Regions from separate parts of the Homo sapiens genome. Here regions 2, 3, 4 and 5 are each linked to region 1. The links are contacts of gene promoters, found by promoter capture Hi-C in blood cells and fetal thymus (Javierre and others, 2016). All regions are on one chromosome and are shown on one strand. Each heading gives the region's core, a stretch centred on a gene start or on the middle of the fragment in contact. The rest is flanking DNA. Distances are from core to core; before and after follow the strand shown. Region 1 holds the start of PID1 (phosphotyrosine interaction domain containing 1). Region 2 overlaps DNER (delta/notch like EGF repeat containing). Region 3 overlaps DNER (delta/notch like EGF repeat containing). Region 4 overlaps DNER (delta/notch like EGF repeat containing). Region 5 overlaps PID1 (phosphotyrosine interaction domain containing 1).

The links. The method cuts DNA at HindIII sites, captures the fragments that hold promoters and counts their contacts. A CHiCAGO score of 5 or more calls a contact.
Region 2: a contact is called between a fragment that was not itself captured here and the fragment with the promoter of PID1 in region 1, in 1 of 17 cell types (monocytes). The highest score is 5.3, in monocytes.
Region 3: a contact is called between a fragment that was not itself captured here and the fragment with the promoter of PID1 in region 1, in 1 of 17 cell types (monocytes). The highest score is 8.5, in monocytes.
Region 4: a contact is called between a fragment that was not itself captured here and the fragment with the promoter of PID1 in region 1, in 1 of 17 cell types (monocytes). The highest score is 13.5, in monocytes.
Region 5: a contact is called between a fragment that was not itself captured here and the fragment with the promoter of PID1 in region 1, in 4 of 17 cell types (M2 macrophages, M0 macrophages, M1 macrophages and 1 more). The highest score is 6.4, in M2 macrophages.

Annotation. Positions count from the first base shown.
Region 1 is chr2:229,269,799-229,272,681 of GRCh38, forward strand. PID1 (phosphotyrosine interaction domain containing 1) reads right to left here and starts at 1,489. Exons shown (of 3, transcript NM_001100818.2): 1 at 1,216-1,489. The coding sequence starts at 1,245. The HindIII fragment of the contact is 3,085 bases long and covers 771-2,883 here.
Region 2 is chr2:229,481,180-229,484,062 of GRCh38, forward strand. All of the region lies in intron 6 of DNER (delta/notch like EGF repeat containing), which reads right to left. Among named protein-coding and RNA genes, the nearest start is that of PID1, 210 kb to the left of the region's middle. The HindIII fragment of the contact is 310 bases long and covers 1,382-1,691 here.
Region 3 is chr2:229,450,253-229,453,135 of GRCh38, forward strand. The region is part of intron 7 of DNER (delta/notch like EGF repeat containing); the gene reads right to left. Among named protein-coding and RNA genes, the nearest start is that of PID1, 180 kb to the left of the region's middle. The HindIII fragment of the contact is 2,854 bases long and covers 70-2,883 here.
Region 4 is chr2:229,433,231-229,436,113 of GRCh38, forward strand. The region is part of intron 8 of DNER (delta/notch like EGF repeat containing); the gene reads right to left. Among named protein-coding and RNA genes, the nearest start is that of PID1, 160 kb to the left of the region's middle. The HindIII fragment of the contact is 820 bases long and covers 1,027-1,846 here.
Region 5 is chr2:229,138,940-229,141,822 of GRCh38, forward strand. All of the region lies in intron 2 of PID1 (phosphotyrosine interaction domain containing 1), which reads right to left. Among named protein-coding and RNA genes, the nearest start is that of PID1, 130 kb to the right of the region's middle. The HindIII fragment of the contact is 6,591 bases long and covers 1-2,883 here.

The DNA.
Region 1 (2,883 bases), core at 239-2,738:
GTTTATTCTACTTGAGACCCTGGGGAACTGGTCTGGTGTCTCAGGCTCTGATAAATTGAACACACTCCCCGCAAATCATGGCCCAGGGAGCTTTGGAAAGGAGCTGTGGGGCATCTGTTTCTGCTAAATGCAATGCCCTCTGCGGGTTGTTCCTCTGTATGAGGACTCCTAGACAAAGGTTAGCCTCTCCCTGCATCTGAGAAACTGTGCTTGGGGCTGTAAATGTTCATTGAGAAGCCTCCAACCTAGCCAGGGCCTGGCCTCATTGTCCTAAGTCTTCAGATGCACTCAGCCTCCAATGGTGCTGTATTTTACCAGTTAAACACGTCTTCAAAGTTTACTACGAAACAATGTGGCTCCTAGCTTGCCAAAAGTTTAACTGCAGGATTCAGTGGATTTTATCTGGCAGAGTAGCTGCCGTGACTCTTGACAATATTTGCCAGCAAAAGGCAGTCCTCAAACCTTGCAACCAGGGCAATCCCAAGGCCCAACGTGTCACTGAAGGAGTTCTTCTGGGAAAGGTCCCTCTTTCTCTTCAATCGCCTCCCGCAAATCCCCAGCTTCCAGAATCCAATTCAAGGCAGTCTGGCATTTCAGGAGACAGCAGTAAAAAACTTTTGATGGGATAACCCAGGACATAAATATTCCTGGCTGAACCTACTTTTGATTCTTAAATATCTGAAGGAGCTTGGGTTTAAGGAAGATAAAGGGAGAGAACCAATGAATAGGGAAAAATAAAATAAGTAGCATACCATGACCAAGCCAAACCAAGCTTGATATTTCCACATTATATTGGCAAATGGATGCTTTCACATATCACTTGTTCTGTCTTTCCTGGTGACCACAAAAAAAAAAAAAAAAAAAAAAAAATCTGGCTTCAAAAATCCTAACCCCAGACCACTGCATTGTGTCAGTGGAATGCAATCTAAATTGCCAGTCAGAAAGTCCAACCTTATATGTACCAACCAACACGCACACAAGCACCTCCAAGCCAAAAGTTGTAACGCCTGAACCCGTGCGTTTATCAATTTCATCATCCCCATACCCCTGCCGGGTTCCTGGCGCTGGGTAAACCGACAGCATCATGTTGCCATCGATGCGTCTTACAAGATGGTTTTGGGCAAATCCCCTAAAGTAGGCAGAAGCAAAAACTAGGTTCCTCTGCCCGGGCACCTCCTCCTCCAGGCTGGCCCCCGGCTCCCGGGTGCCCCTTACCTGCAGGCGCTCCGTGGCCGGCTGCCACATCTTCCAGCCCTGGGTTTTGGCAGAGGAGACGCTGGCGAGACTGTCGATCGCGCCGGGGGGCGAGGGGCTGGGGTCCCGCTTTACATCTGGGGTCGGTGTCCGCGGGATGTGCGTCCTGGCGCTGGCCACCGCCGCCGGGTGGGCGTAGGGGGCTGCGAGCAGGAGGAGGCGCGGCGCTCAGCTGCCGGCAACTTGTGGGCACGGCCGCGCGCCGGCTGTCCTGGCGCAGCTGCGAGAGGACTGCGCAGCTCCGCCCGGGCCCGGCGAGCGCGCGGCGGCGGCGGGGGCGGCCGCTCCCTCCTCCCCCGCCGCCGCCGCCCGGACCTGCGCGCTCTGAGCATGCCCGGGGCGGGCGCCCAGGGGCCGCGCGGGGCGGGAGTGCAGCGCGGCCGACTCTAAATCCTAGTGAGGGGTGAATGGGGAGGCTAGAACAGCCGGCCCTTCCCTGCAGGAAGCCCCCATTGGGTTGGGGTCTGGGAAAAGGGACAGACTGGCTGAGGGGGGAAGGGCCTGGAGCCGGGGGTGGTGGGGGCAGCGGGGATGTCGGGGGTGGCGGGGGTGGGGGAAATTCCTAAAATAAGGAAACCGTAGCCCCGGGGGTCCCGGGTTTCCATATAACAGGCATCTCTGAAGTGCCTGTGCTGTGCCTGGCGCTGTGCTAGGGAGACACTTCCATTCATTCTTCCCACTCCAGTTAACTGAGCATCTATTAGGCTCCAGCCCCTATGCTGGGTTCTGAGGATGCAGCGACGCAGAATAGAAGACAAGAGAATGTTCCTTCTCTCTGGAGCTTACCTTCTGCTTTGGAGAGAGAGTCGTGACTGAGCAAACACATCAACAAGCCGGTGCTATATCGGGTGGTGATAAAACAGGGCAGATGTGGGAAGAAGGGGAGAGGAGAGCTTCTTAGACAAGGGCCCTGGGGAATGCCTGGAGTAAGACCTGAGAGATGAGAGGGATTGGCCACGAAGAGGCCATGCTTCATGATGGGGAGAGGACTCGACTCCTAACCTATACAGGGGTGAGGAGGGCCATGCAGACTCCCGAATCACTAACTCATCCTGAGATCTGCCAGGTGCAGCAGGAGGCTCTCAGAACCCAAGGGAAAGCCGCTCTGGGCTCGCAGGCCTGGAGGCTCCCCGGCTAGTGCCGGCCACCATGAGATGACTTCCTGTCCTAAACAGGCCAGCCCTTCCCATTCTCTTGACAACTCGGCAAAATAACTATTAATATTTTCACCATGTGGATCAAACAAATGAGGCTTATAAGGTTTAGGTCACTTGTCCAGGTCACACAGCCAGTGAGTGGCTTAGAGAGTGCACAGTCAGATGACTTCAGGGCAGGAGATGTGGCCCTGCGCCTCTAACTGACCATGGAAACCCAGTGGAAAGAGCATCCGTCTAGGGCTGGGGGTTAAAGGCACTTGGCAAGTCAGGGATACTAAGCTGATTCTCGAGCTGATGAAGAGTGGGAGAGGAGAACATGGTGGGAAGAACTCAGGACATAGAATGACCAAAGAGAGGAGCAGAGAGAACACAATGTTTGTGGGGAGCCCTAGGCTCCTACAAGGCAGGGTCCTGAGAGCAGAGGGGTGTGAAAGAGAGGCATTTCATACTGAGACAGCTGCACAGCTTGGGC
Region 2 (2,883 bases), core at 287-2,786, 210 kb after region 1:
CGTTTCCCAAATTAGACGTATGGACCATGATGGCAGGAGCTCAAGACCTGACAATCATTCACACCAGACTCACCAAGAGGACCAGGTATTATTCTTGGCCTCCAGGGAGTTACTAGTTGGCAGTCCCAAGAGTACCATCATCAACTGTATTACTCCCATTACAGTTGCATTACTAGCCAAGTGAAGACAGTTCTGGAAGAGGAGAGGCAGAGGACAAGGAGCCAGGAGCATCCTGTGGCTGGCTTCAGAAACTCTCAAATACCAGCGAGTGACTCCTTAGACCCTCAGAGAGCAGAGGCTTCACTGAAGGTGTTGGGCAAATCACTGGTATTGATATACATGTAATACTCTGAACTGGATACCTAAGATCTACACAAATCTCACCCTTCCTGTGTCTTTTGGTTTTTTATTTGATCTCATAATCAAGGAGTCAAAACTAAATGAGTGACTGGTAGAAATTTAAATGAAAAATACCATTAAAGTCTTGGCCTGGGTTTTCTTTCTTCCATCCTGCTAAAAGTCAAACTCTTCTCTGGGGACTAAAGTAACCATACCAACTATGACTAATATTTCCTTTTGCCACTAAAGCAATGACAGACACCCAGAGGACCTCGTAGAAGATATACAAGCAAGACTGATGGTATCGATGCCACAGACACAAAAGGTAATACACGGTGGCCATTCTGTGTGTGTTATGGAAGAATTTGCTCTAGCATGCATACACAACAGGCATTTCAGCCCTGGAAACCTATGCCATAGCTCCCAAGTGGAAGGTGGGCAAGACATGGAGAAAAACCCATGTAAAGGCACACAAGAGTGCAGAAAATGTGTGAATGTCATTGACACTTGACTAAAAATGCAAGACAATGATAAACTCCCTTATTTTGATTTCCAAATGACGAAAGTCTATACCTAACCATGGAGGCAAGTATCAGCAATTGTCTTTCTTTCCTCTAGCTAGTGGTACTCCCTCTAAGCCCCCATGGGCAGACCACAAGCATTCGTGAACCACCTGCCAAGTTATTGTCACAACCACATAATACCTTTCACATTGTCTAGTCCCAAACCTCACTGCCTCTCACCAGGACTCCAGCAATGGTCGCCCAGCCCCTGTCTTCACTGCCACACTTGCTTTCTTTCAATCCATTCTCCACATACGAATAGCCAAAGAGATCCTTTTAAGATATAATTCATATCCTATTACTCCTTACTTAAAACCCTCCAATGGCTTCCCAAAAGGTTTGGAATAAAACCCAAACACTTTACCCAGGGGCTAAAAGATACCGCACGGTGTGGCCCCTGCACCCTCATCTTGGCCCAGTCCTGCCACCGACCACCGTGCTGCAGCCACCCAGGCCTCACTCTATTCCGAATCTCGCCAAGCTTCTGCTCATAGGCATCAGTATTGTTTTCATGCTGTGGCCTCAGGACCAGAAAGAATCATGAGAGGGATGCAGGATTCAACAGAAGCAGTTACAGTCCTGCCCTACAAAGAGAAGTGGGGCACAGATTTAAAATTGTCCTGAGATGGAGAAATTACTGAAGAAAGTTAGCAATAAACTTTTGGGAGTGGAAAGGAGAGGACCAGTGGAGTTATAGTGGAATTTCATTTGTAAAATCAGGAAATAAAGACAGGAGGGTTTAGAAATAAATTGCACAACAGAGTAGAAGACCTAAGAGAAGGGTATCAAAGCTTTAAAGTTATCTCTAGAACCAGGTAGGGAGACATGAAAATGTCTTAAGAGGGCTACAAAGAAAAGTGCAAAATCCAACTAAGGAGGGAAGGAAAATAGCTACAACCTTAGTGGGAGTTACCAATAAAATCAGAACAATTAAACAATAATGTCTCTGGGACTCAGGGGCTGTGGGTTTTGAAATCAAGCCCATTGATGAGTATGAGCTTGGAGTTTCCTGTTGGATGGCAATAATAGGGAGAGGTGGCCTATGTGTGCTCATCCCACTGATATGAGAAGAATCACCCTGGATGCCCAGGACTCCTGAGACAGCCAAAAACCTCCCTCCCAGAAACAACCTTAGTCCTCTGAGCGCCAACTGCAATTCATTTGGGTCAAGAACCACAGTTAGCTTAGGATAATGAAGCTCTTCCATTAGCGGTATGAGTCTTCCAATCACAAGAAGAGATAGAGCCAAGTATAGAGATGATGATATGAGGACGTAGATCAAGCCCATGGTTCTGCCACTTCGTGTCTGGTTTAAGCTAATCTGTGCCTATTGGTATGCAAAGAATGTGTGATGATTGAGAAAAAATGTGATGTGTGAGAGAATCTATCACACTTATGATTCCAATTAAAATGTTTAGCTGAGTAATTGGTTTTTGATTGATGAATTTAAGTTGAAAGATAAGATTAAGTCAGAACCCATTGGGATGTTGAACAGAGCTTGAGAATCATTATAGTGTTTAAGTTTACTTCTCACAAGGGAACGCATACAAAAGATAATTTCAAATAGTCTTCTCTGTGCCCAAAGGACATTCTGGGATGCCAAAAAACTCACCCCTGGACCCTGTGGTCACACTGCAGGGCTGTTTCCTCTGACTCTGCAGCCTTCTGTGCCCACCCTCTTTCATTAGTTAGCTCTAAGCTCAGAAGTCACTTGCTCAGACCTCAGGCTTTTTGCCCTTGTTTATTCTAAAACTTCGCTCTTATTTCTACTTGAAACACACACACATACTTGTTACCTCCCCACCCAGAAGGTGACCCATGGGAGTAGGGCTGCATCCCTGGAGGCCCCTGTTGTATCCCCAGGGCACCTGTGTGCTCATCACTGTATACTTCTCATTACCTACAATGATTTTCTTTATTGGTTTCCTTCCGAGAACATAAACTCCCTGAGAATCAGGACTTTCTCTGCCTTGTTTGGAGA
Region 3 (2,883 bases), core at 247-2,746, 180 kb after region 1:
TAGGTGGGTGAGAACTTGATGGAAAGAATATCTAGGGAGGGTCAAAGATAAGAAAAATCAGGAACAAGAAGCTTATACCTACGTTAGGAGCATAAAAATGAAAATTACTTAGAACTACTAGAACCCAGTAGAAGAGTTAATATTAAATATAGTTCTCAGTGGAGGTTGATAGTTAAGCATTGGATTAGCAATGTCATGGGTTAAATTGCGTCCCTCCAAAATTCATATTTTTTAAAATTAGCTTTCTCTGGTTGAGTAAAATTCATATTTTGAAGCCCTAACTCTCAATACCTCAGAATGTGGCTTTTCAGGGATAGTGCCTTTAAAGAGGTGAGTCAGTTAAACTGAAGTTGTTAGGTTGAGCCCTAATGCAATCTGACTGGTGTCTTTATAAGCAGAGATCAGGACACAGAAAAAGACACCAGAGATGCCTGTGCACAAAGGAAAAGACCTTGTGAGGAGGAAGCAAGAGGGTGGCCCTCTGCAGGCCAAGGAGAGAGGCCTCAGAAAAAATCAACCCTGCCAGCACTTTGATCCTGAGCTTCCAGCCTCCAGAACTAGAAGTAGATGAACTGCTTATCAGCCTCCAAAGCTAGAAAAAGATGTCTGTTGTTTAAACCTGTAGTCCTTGGTCACAGCAGCCTGAGAAGACTCATACAAATAGGGAGCATAAGGAGACAGGGAAGCGATAATTAGGATCTTGTGTTTGATTCTGTGTTCACCACCCCAGCAGTCTGAGTGACCATGGCAAGGCCCCCTTTCTCCCATCGTCCACTGCCTCTACCTGGAAAACAGGGCTGAAACTGTTTTCTTTACAAAGTCACTGTGGGTTCTGAAAAAAATACATATCAAACTTCCTAGTACGGTTCCCAGTCCAAGGCTGGAAGAATGAATGAATTAAAAATGCTAATAATAACAGCAACAGGCCAGGCGTGATGGCTCATGCCTATAATCCTAGCACTTTGGGAGACTGAGGCAGGCGGATCACGAGGTCAGGAGTCCAAGACCAGCCTGGCCAACGTGGTGAAATCCCGTCTCTACTAAAAATACAAAAATTAGCCGGGTGTGGTGGTGCCTGCCTGTAATCCCAGCTACTGGGGAGGCTGAGGCAGGAGAATCGCTTGAACCCAGGAGGCGGAGGATGCAGTGAGCCGAGATAGTGCCACTGCACTACAGGCTGGGTGACAGAGCAAGACTCTGTCTCGAAAAATAAATAAACAAATAAATAAATAACAGCAACAGCTAACATCCACTGGAGGCTGATTTGCATCACCTGGTTCTAACCCTTTAGGTGAACTATTTCATTTAATCCTACTATTATAGTAGGATGTAAGAACTATAATAGCCCTATCTTACAAATGTGAAAACAGTGACATGAGAATGTGAAGTAACCTTTTCAAGTCTAAATAGCTAGTATATGGCAGAGCTGGGACACCAAGGCCAAGTGCTTACACGTCTCCTACACTGCACAGAAGAGAAGTGAATGACCAACCAATTAAGATGTTATGATGTGTAAGCAAAACCAGGACTTATGTTTCTATCCTGTTTGTGTCTTGGTGAAAGAATAGAGGATTTACTGATCAGGTCAAAATAAAGGAAAAAGTGAATTTTAGAAAGGCAATCACTCTAGCTTTATGTCAATATACTCAGTTATAAATAGTAATATAAGCCACACAGAATAGTCCAAGTAGAAATAAAAATGGGTAACAAGGAGACATAAAGGGTCATGGCTTTGGAGAGAGCCAATATTTCAATAAGAAGAGAAGTGCAGAAAATGAATAATAATGAGAGCACTGGTCAGGCCAGGTCACGACTGGTCTTATATGTTACACTTGGGAGCTTACATTTCATTCTGAGGCTACTGGATATCATCTATTTTCATTATTTATATCTCTAATTATAGGCAATGTGGAGAGGGAATCAGAAGAGGTTGAGACCGGAAGCATGAAACCAGTTGTTTACTCGAATAATTGAGGTTGTGAAGGCCAATTTGTAGCAATAAACATAAAGAATGTGAAATATATTAGAGCATGATTTTATAAGTAAAATTATCAATTCAGGGACCACTTGGACTGTAGAAGAATGGAAGAGACGACAGAGCCCAGAGACACAATGTAACATAAGTCAAAAATGCAAATGCCAGCAGGACTCCGGTAGATAATGTTGATACAGAGGGTGGATCAGGTGTAATACAATAGGGACTGGCAGGGTCTGTGGCAAACGGGAGAAAGCATGCCCCTTCCAAAAAAGACGGCCGCCATAACCTGCAGCCAATTTGAAACATGGGGCCAGGTACCATATCTTCTGAGTGTTCAAGAAAAGTCCGAAATCCAAATTCCTGTTTGAGCCTTGTCTATTTTATTATTATTTTATTTATTTATTTATTTATTTTTTGAGATGGAGTCTTGCTCCGTAGCCCAGGCTGAAGTGCAGTGGCATGATCTCGGCTCACTGCAACCTCCGCCTCCTGGATTCAAGCATTCTCTTGCCTCAGCCTCCCAAGTAACTGGGACTACAGGCACTTGCCACCACGCCCAGCTAATTTTTGTATTTTTAGTAGAGACGGGGTTTCACCATGTTGGCCAGGCTGGTCTTGAACTCCTGACCTCAAGTGATCCACTCGCCTCAGCCTCCCAAAGTGCTGGGATTACAGGCGTGAGCCACCACACCCAGCCAAGGCTTGTCATTTTAAACTGTTGATAAATAATTTCTCCAGCAAATAAAGCATATGTATGGGCCCTGTATATGTGTCTTCTCTGTGTGAGTTAATGTTAAAGAGCTTTGAACCAAGGGGAATTGGATTTAAACACCATCTCAGCCCACTAAACTGTGGGACTTTGGGCTAGTACTTAATCACTCTGACTTTCTGCTTTTGTATCCATG
Region 4 (2,883 bases), core at 187-2,686, 160 kb after region 1:
CCCAGCCGGTTTTGTATTTTAACAGCCATGGCATCTCCTAAGCGCGTTTAACTAATCCAACCGCAAAACATATGGTCAGAACATGTACCAGCTATGGGCATATAAATAAACCAACAGTGAAACATATAGTCAAATGATCTACCAGCCATCGGCACATGGACTAAAGGAAGCTACCCTCCTCTCGAGGTTTACATAAGGGAAAAAAGTAACACAAAGGAATCCCAAAGTGACAACAAATGACGTATTGGAAAAGAAAGGCCAGAATGAGGGAAAGTAATAAGGATATAGCTGTGGCACAATGTGTTCTAGTTCCTCACTGTATGACTAGGAGTCACACATGCCTAAGCGGAATGAGGATAAACAAGTTCATATTCAAATTCGTGAGGGCAATTTTTCCCACATCTCTGATCTAGCTTCCTTAACCCACAGGAATAATATTTTTGCAGAAAGGAATGTCAGAAAATGGAAGATATTAGAAGTATTTAATACAGCACCAAGATTAAGATTTTGAGTAACATACAGACCAGTAGGTAATATTAAAAATAATATTATAGTTTTGTAAAGATTAAGTGTGTTTCAAATTGACTATCATATACTAGACATTTGTGAATTAGCTTTTTGCATTCCTAATTATCTTGCCGAAAATTTGCTCTGAAGGTAATTTATGTTGCTTATCTTTTAAAATATATTTTGAATAAAACATAAAAGCTCTACTTTAAAAAGGAAAGAAAGAAAAAAGCATAAACAATCTAAGGTAACAATTTTTGCAAACCAAAAATTGGGAACCATGATCTGACAAAGTTGCGCTGTTTCCAATTATATATCAGAGGTGGCCTCATAGATACATAGTTTGGTAGCAAAGTATTTGTGTGATGGAAAACAAAATACTGTGACTGGGATTATTCCAGAAAATTTTGGTACACGGAGTCCACAATGCAGACCACGATTATCTTTCTGGCTGTATTTACTTTCATTCCCCTATCACTGGGGACATTCACAGGCACAATGCAATCGTGTCATCCTCTAAGCTTTCTATTAGTCATTGCCATTCTCGAGTAAATATGCTAAATCCTAAATATTGTTAAACACCAGGGAAATTTCTCATGATCCTTTAAGAACAGTTTTAGAAGCACACACCTTCCACTTGGCCACTATCCCTAAGGGCTACAAATGCCCAAGGGCTGAAGCTGACAGTCAGGACTTCAGCTAAAGAATTTCATGGGGAAATTCAGCCTTGATGCAACTGGATTACAAAGAAAATTTCAAAATGTAAATAAATCAGAAATGACAACTCAATTATATGAGTAAATTCTGAATTCTCTTCCAACTTTCTTTATTAAATTAAGGATGCCTAAACACACAGCATTTGTTCATTTAAGAGTTGATAAAGCAGTGAAAAATCAGAAGTGTGTTTTTATTTGGTGACTTAAGATTCTAGGAGAATATATATGTTAATAACCTGAAGGGAAAAATGAAACTTCTTTGAAATAAAGCCAGGAACAAGGCTCAATCTATATGGAATTATGAGGTAAGTAAAGAAGTTTTCTCCTAGACATTCCTTATCACTTGAGTAGGCAAGTTCAGGGGACCTCACCATTTCTTTTCAAGCAACCAAAGATTAAACACTGTTTTTCAACTTTCTTTCTCCTCAAATCTGCTTACATATATAGAGACAATTTATATATATATATATATACACACACACACACACACACACACGTGCACACACACACACAGACACATCACATCACATTCTTCACATATTTAGGTTTAAGGTTATGGTAGATTGAAAAAAAAATAGCTACAAGTTCTGTGCAGCTCCTCCTATCAAGAAACAGAGTCTATAAGCTTGGCCCTGTGACTTGCTCATGCCACTGGGACATTGGCAAACAACAGAAGAAGCAGCTTTAAAGAGAGCATGCATATGGGACCTTGTGTTCTGTTGCTGCTTTCGGAACCCTACAATCGTGGGAAGAAGCCCCGACTGGTCTGCTGGATGAAGAGAGACATGTGGCTTAGTTGCCCCCATCACTCCAGCTAACTGCCAGCAATATAAGAGGGGTCATCCAGGACCCGGCAGTCCCCAGCTGGCTTGCCAGCTGACCACAAAAGCATGAGTGGGCACATGGAATAGAGAAGAGACATCCCAGCTAAACCCTGCCCAAATTATCAACCCACAGAATCACAAACAATAAGTGGTTTTCTTAAGCCATCAAGTCTTGGAATGTTTTGTTACACAGCAATGACTAACTAATACAAAGGTTGATTGCCAGGTACAATGTCTAACTTAAATAAATAAAACCACAAAGATAAACTTTTAGGCATCAGAGACCTGGTAAAAAAGGTATTTTTACGGAGTAGTAAAGAGGAGTCTTCTCAAAATAGTACCACCAGGTACTACATATTCCTTAGTTTAGACCTACTTTAATTGGGCTTATCCAATCTAAAAGCAACACCTACTAATGAATTGAACCTAGGACATTCACTCTGATCTGAGGCATCAGAAACCATCTGGTAGAGTAAAATTGAAACATGATCTTGGTAATCATCAACATATCATTAAGACTTCAGTCCAACCAACTAAGGACCTCTTTAGGCAATTCCTATAAAACCAAGTGGGATTGTAATTTTTTAATGATTTTGGCAATATGTTTATTCACAATATAAACTGTTTGGTAAAAGATAAACATGTGCCTAACAAGTTAACAACATTTGATTGTGATTTTTTTTAACTTTTATTTTAGGTTCAGGGATACACAGGCAGGTTTTTCATATAAGTAAATTACATGTCTCAGGGGTTTGGTGTACAGATTATTTTCTCACCCAGGTAATAAGTATAGTACACAGTAAGTAGTTTTTCGACCCTCATCCTCCTCCCCACTC
Region 5 (2,883 bases), core at 110-2,609, 130 kb before region 1:
AAGGGGTACTGAAGAAAAGAGAAATAAATAGAAAAAAATAGAAGAAAGAAAGAAAGAAAGAAAGAAAGAAAGAAAGAAAGAAAGAAAGAAAGAAAGAAAGAGAAAGAAAGAAAGAAAGAGAAAGAAAGAAAGAAAGAAAGAAAGAAAGAAAGAAAGAAAGAAAGAAAGAAAGAAAGAGAAAGAAAGAAAGAAAGAAAGAAAGAAAGAAAGCAAGCGAGCGAGCAAGCGAGCTTCCCTTGACCAAACACTCCCTTGGAATACATGTATTTTTAGTTTTGCTTCACCATGATAGGGCACTTAACCTGTCTTTAGCTACACTTAAAAGAAAGAAAAAGGGATACAGTGTCACAAATGGCACTTCCTTCACAGTGATGGCACAATCATGAATGAGTCAAATGCTGCAGCCTAAAGACAAACGACTACAGATTAATGAGCTAGATGAAGAATCTATCCTACAAATACAATGAAAATACATTTTGCCCCACCCACAGAATCTAAGATTTTCCATATTTCACACAGTGCTGATCTTAGCATCTTTATCCTCTAGGAACATGTGAACTCTTCTAGCTGTGAACTACTGAACAAGGAAAAAACAAACAACGAACAAAAAAGCCTCCTAAATCTGAATATCCCAGCACTGAGAAAGTCACTTTTCCTTTCTACAAAGAAATCTTGATCTACGAATGTAGAGTCTGCCCTAGCTAATGAACCATCTTGGCTATCATAACTGGCTGCTAGTTGTCAATAAATCTCAGACCGTGGCCAAAGCTACACAAGCTACATTTCATTTTAATGTCTTTAACATCCACACAAATGATGATGAGTTCTCTCCTTATCTCTCCCTTGATATAATAAGGAGGAACAGTCTCAGCACTGGAGGATTGGCCCAAGAATGAAGAAAGATAAATACCAGTTCTGCTCCTACACCTGTTTGCTAAGAATATCACTTGGTCTGATAGGTCTAGTTTTTCTCACCCTCCACATGGGGGCCAAGAGAGGATTTTGATCTTGATCAGGATATCTGACACCAGTCTATCATTTTCTCCTCCTGAAACAATAGCAGATATTCATGAATGAGCTTGGCATGCTTTTCTGCAAAGCCAAGAAGCAGCCTCCATGTCCTTAGCGTGGTACTCCAGGACCTCATCCCCAAAGTATGCTATGTCCACCCCGGAAGCTACATAATAGAATCACCTAGGTTGTGGACAGAATATATTAAAATTTCTATTTATAGTTATTTTTATCTTCAAAAATATGAAATAAATTCAGCGTTACTAATGCTTAATACATAGGCCGACACTGGAATCCTCCACCAATCCATTTGTCATATAATCAGTGTCACATACAGAATTAGAAGTATCCTAAGGGAGGGTGGGCATCCTATAGTGGGAAAGGAGTTGATGGGACACTTCACCTGCGGGATCACTCAGAGCTTTACAGTCCACATTCGCTCACTGCAGTGAAGTTATGGATTACAAATCTGGTTTTAATAAAATCCTGCTGACATTCCTACAAATAAATGACAGATTTAAGGTAATTAAAAGAGTGCACACACACACACACAAGAAAATGGTAGAGCTGATGTATTTCCTTCTCCTGGCATATGATCTTTTCTACCTTATTCTGGGGTGAAAACTGATGATCCAATTGCATCTGACAAGAAGTCAGCCAAACAATATTAAAACTATCAAAGCTATGTGAAATTCAGTTTTATATCCATTATTGTTAAAGAAGAGCCTGGCCTACACTAAGAGAAATCCATCATAATAACAAGATATACATACAATATTGTTTATTCCTAATGTAGCTCATGCCAACATTTCTACTTTATATTTGTTTTAAAATAGTCATAATAAACCCTATCTCTAAAAATATATATTTAATAATTAGTAACTATTACAGCGATTTAGCCTATGTATTAATACATTTATAATTATCAGTAGTGTTTCTTTTGTTTAAAGGGGTCTGTAATTTAAAAAGAAAAAATGAGTAGGGTTCCTAGTAGAGGATTTTACTGACCATGAACAAATAAACTATTTTTTTTTTTTGCATTGCCCTAATAGGTCTGCACATTTCCTTCCTTTGACTCTCTTTGTCTCAGACTGACTCTAGTATCTATGTGGCAGGATGACTTATCTTCCTCTCTGCTCTTTCTCTTCCAGAAGATGACCCTTGCTATGAAGCGGAAATAAAATTAGGGTTCTGTTGGCATAGTAACTATGAAGACACCACGTTTTTGCAACATAAAACTTTCTTTTTTAATCTTCAAGACTAAGGTCCATTTCTCCTATTGATGATTAATGCTGAGGATCCTGAAGCTCCCTTTCCCTGGAGCTCCTTCTACCTCCAAACCAGATGTTCCTGATAGACCAGGATTGTTGGGGATGGGGCTGCAAGGAAGGGCCAAGAAGTAAAAAAGACTTTAGGAAATCTCTGGAAGGAGAATAAAGAGGGGAGAACAGAAGAAAAGGGACTTTTATCCACAAGCAAGGTGGACTCTGAATGAGCTGTCTGGTAAGTAAGCACCTGTTTTGCACCACCTCATGAATAGACTAATAGGAAAGTGTTTCCATAATAGTGGATGGCACCACTCCTGCTCTAACACTTATTGCAGGCATACTAGGTGGAAACATGAGAATTCTAGCACTGCTCATAAGTGTCACGAAAACAACTCTTAAAGAGAATGCATTCATCAATCAATGTGGGGGGGGAACTAATTTCAGTGGGATTTTCAGCTTACAGGGTAACTTTCCTGGCTCCCAGGATGATGAATTTCATTTATCCTCATTACTTCCTGAGTAAATTATTTTATAATTCCTGGATTTGGCTTCTGAAGATGCCTGGTGACTCATAAATGCCAATCTGACTAATGTCTCATTTAGA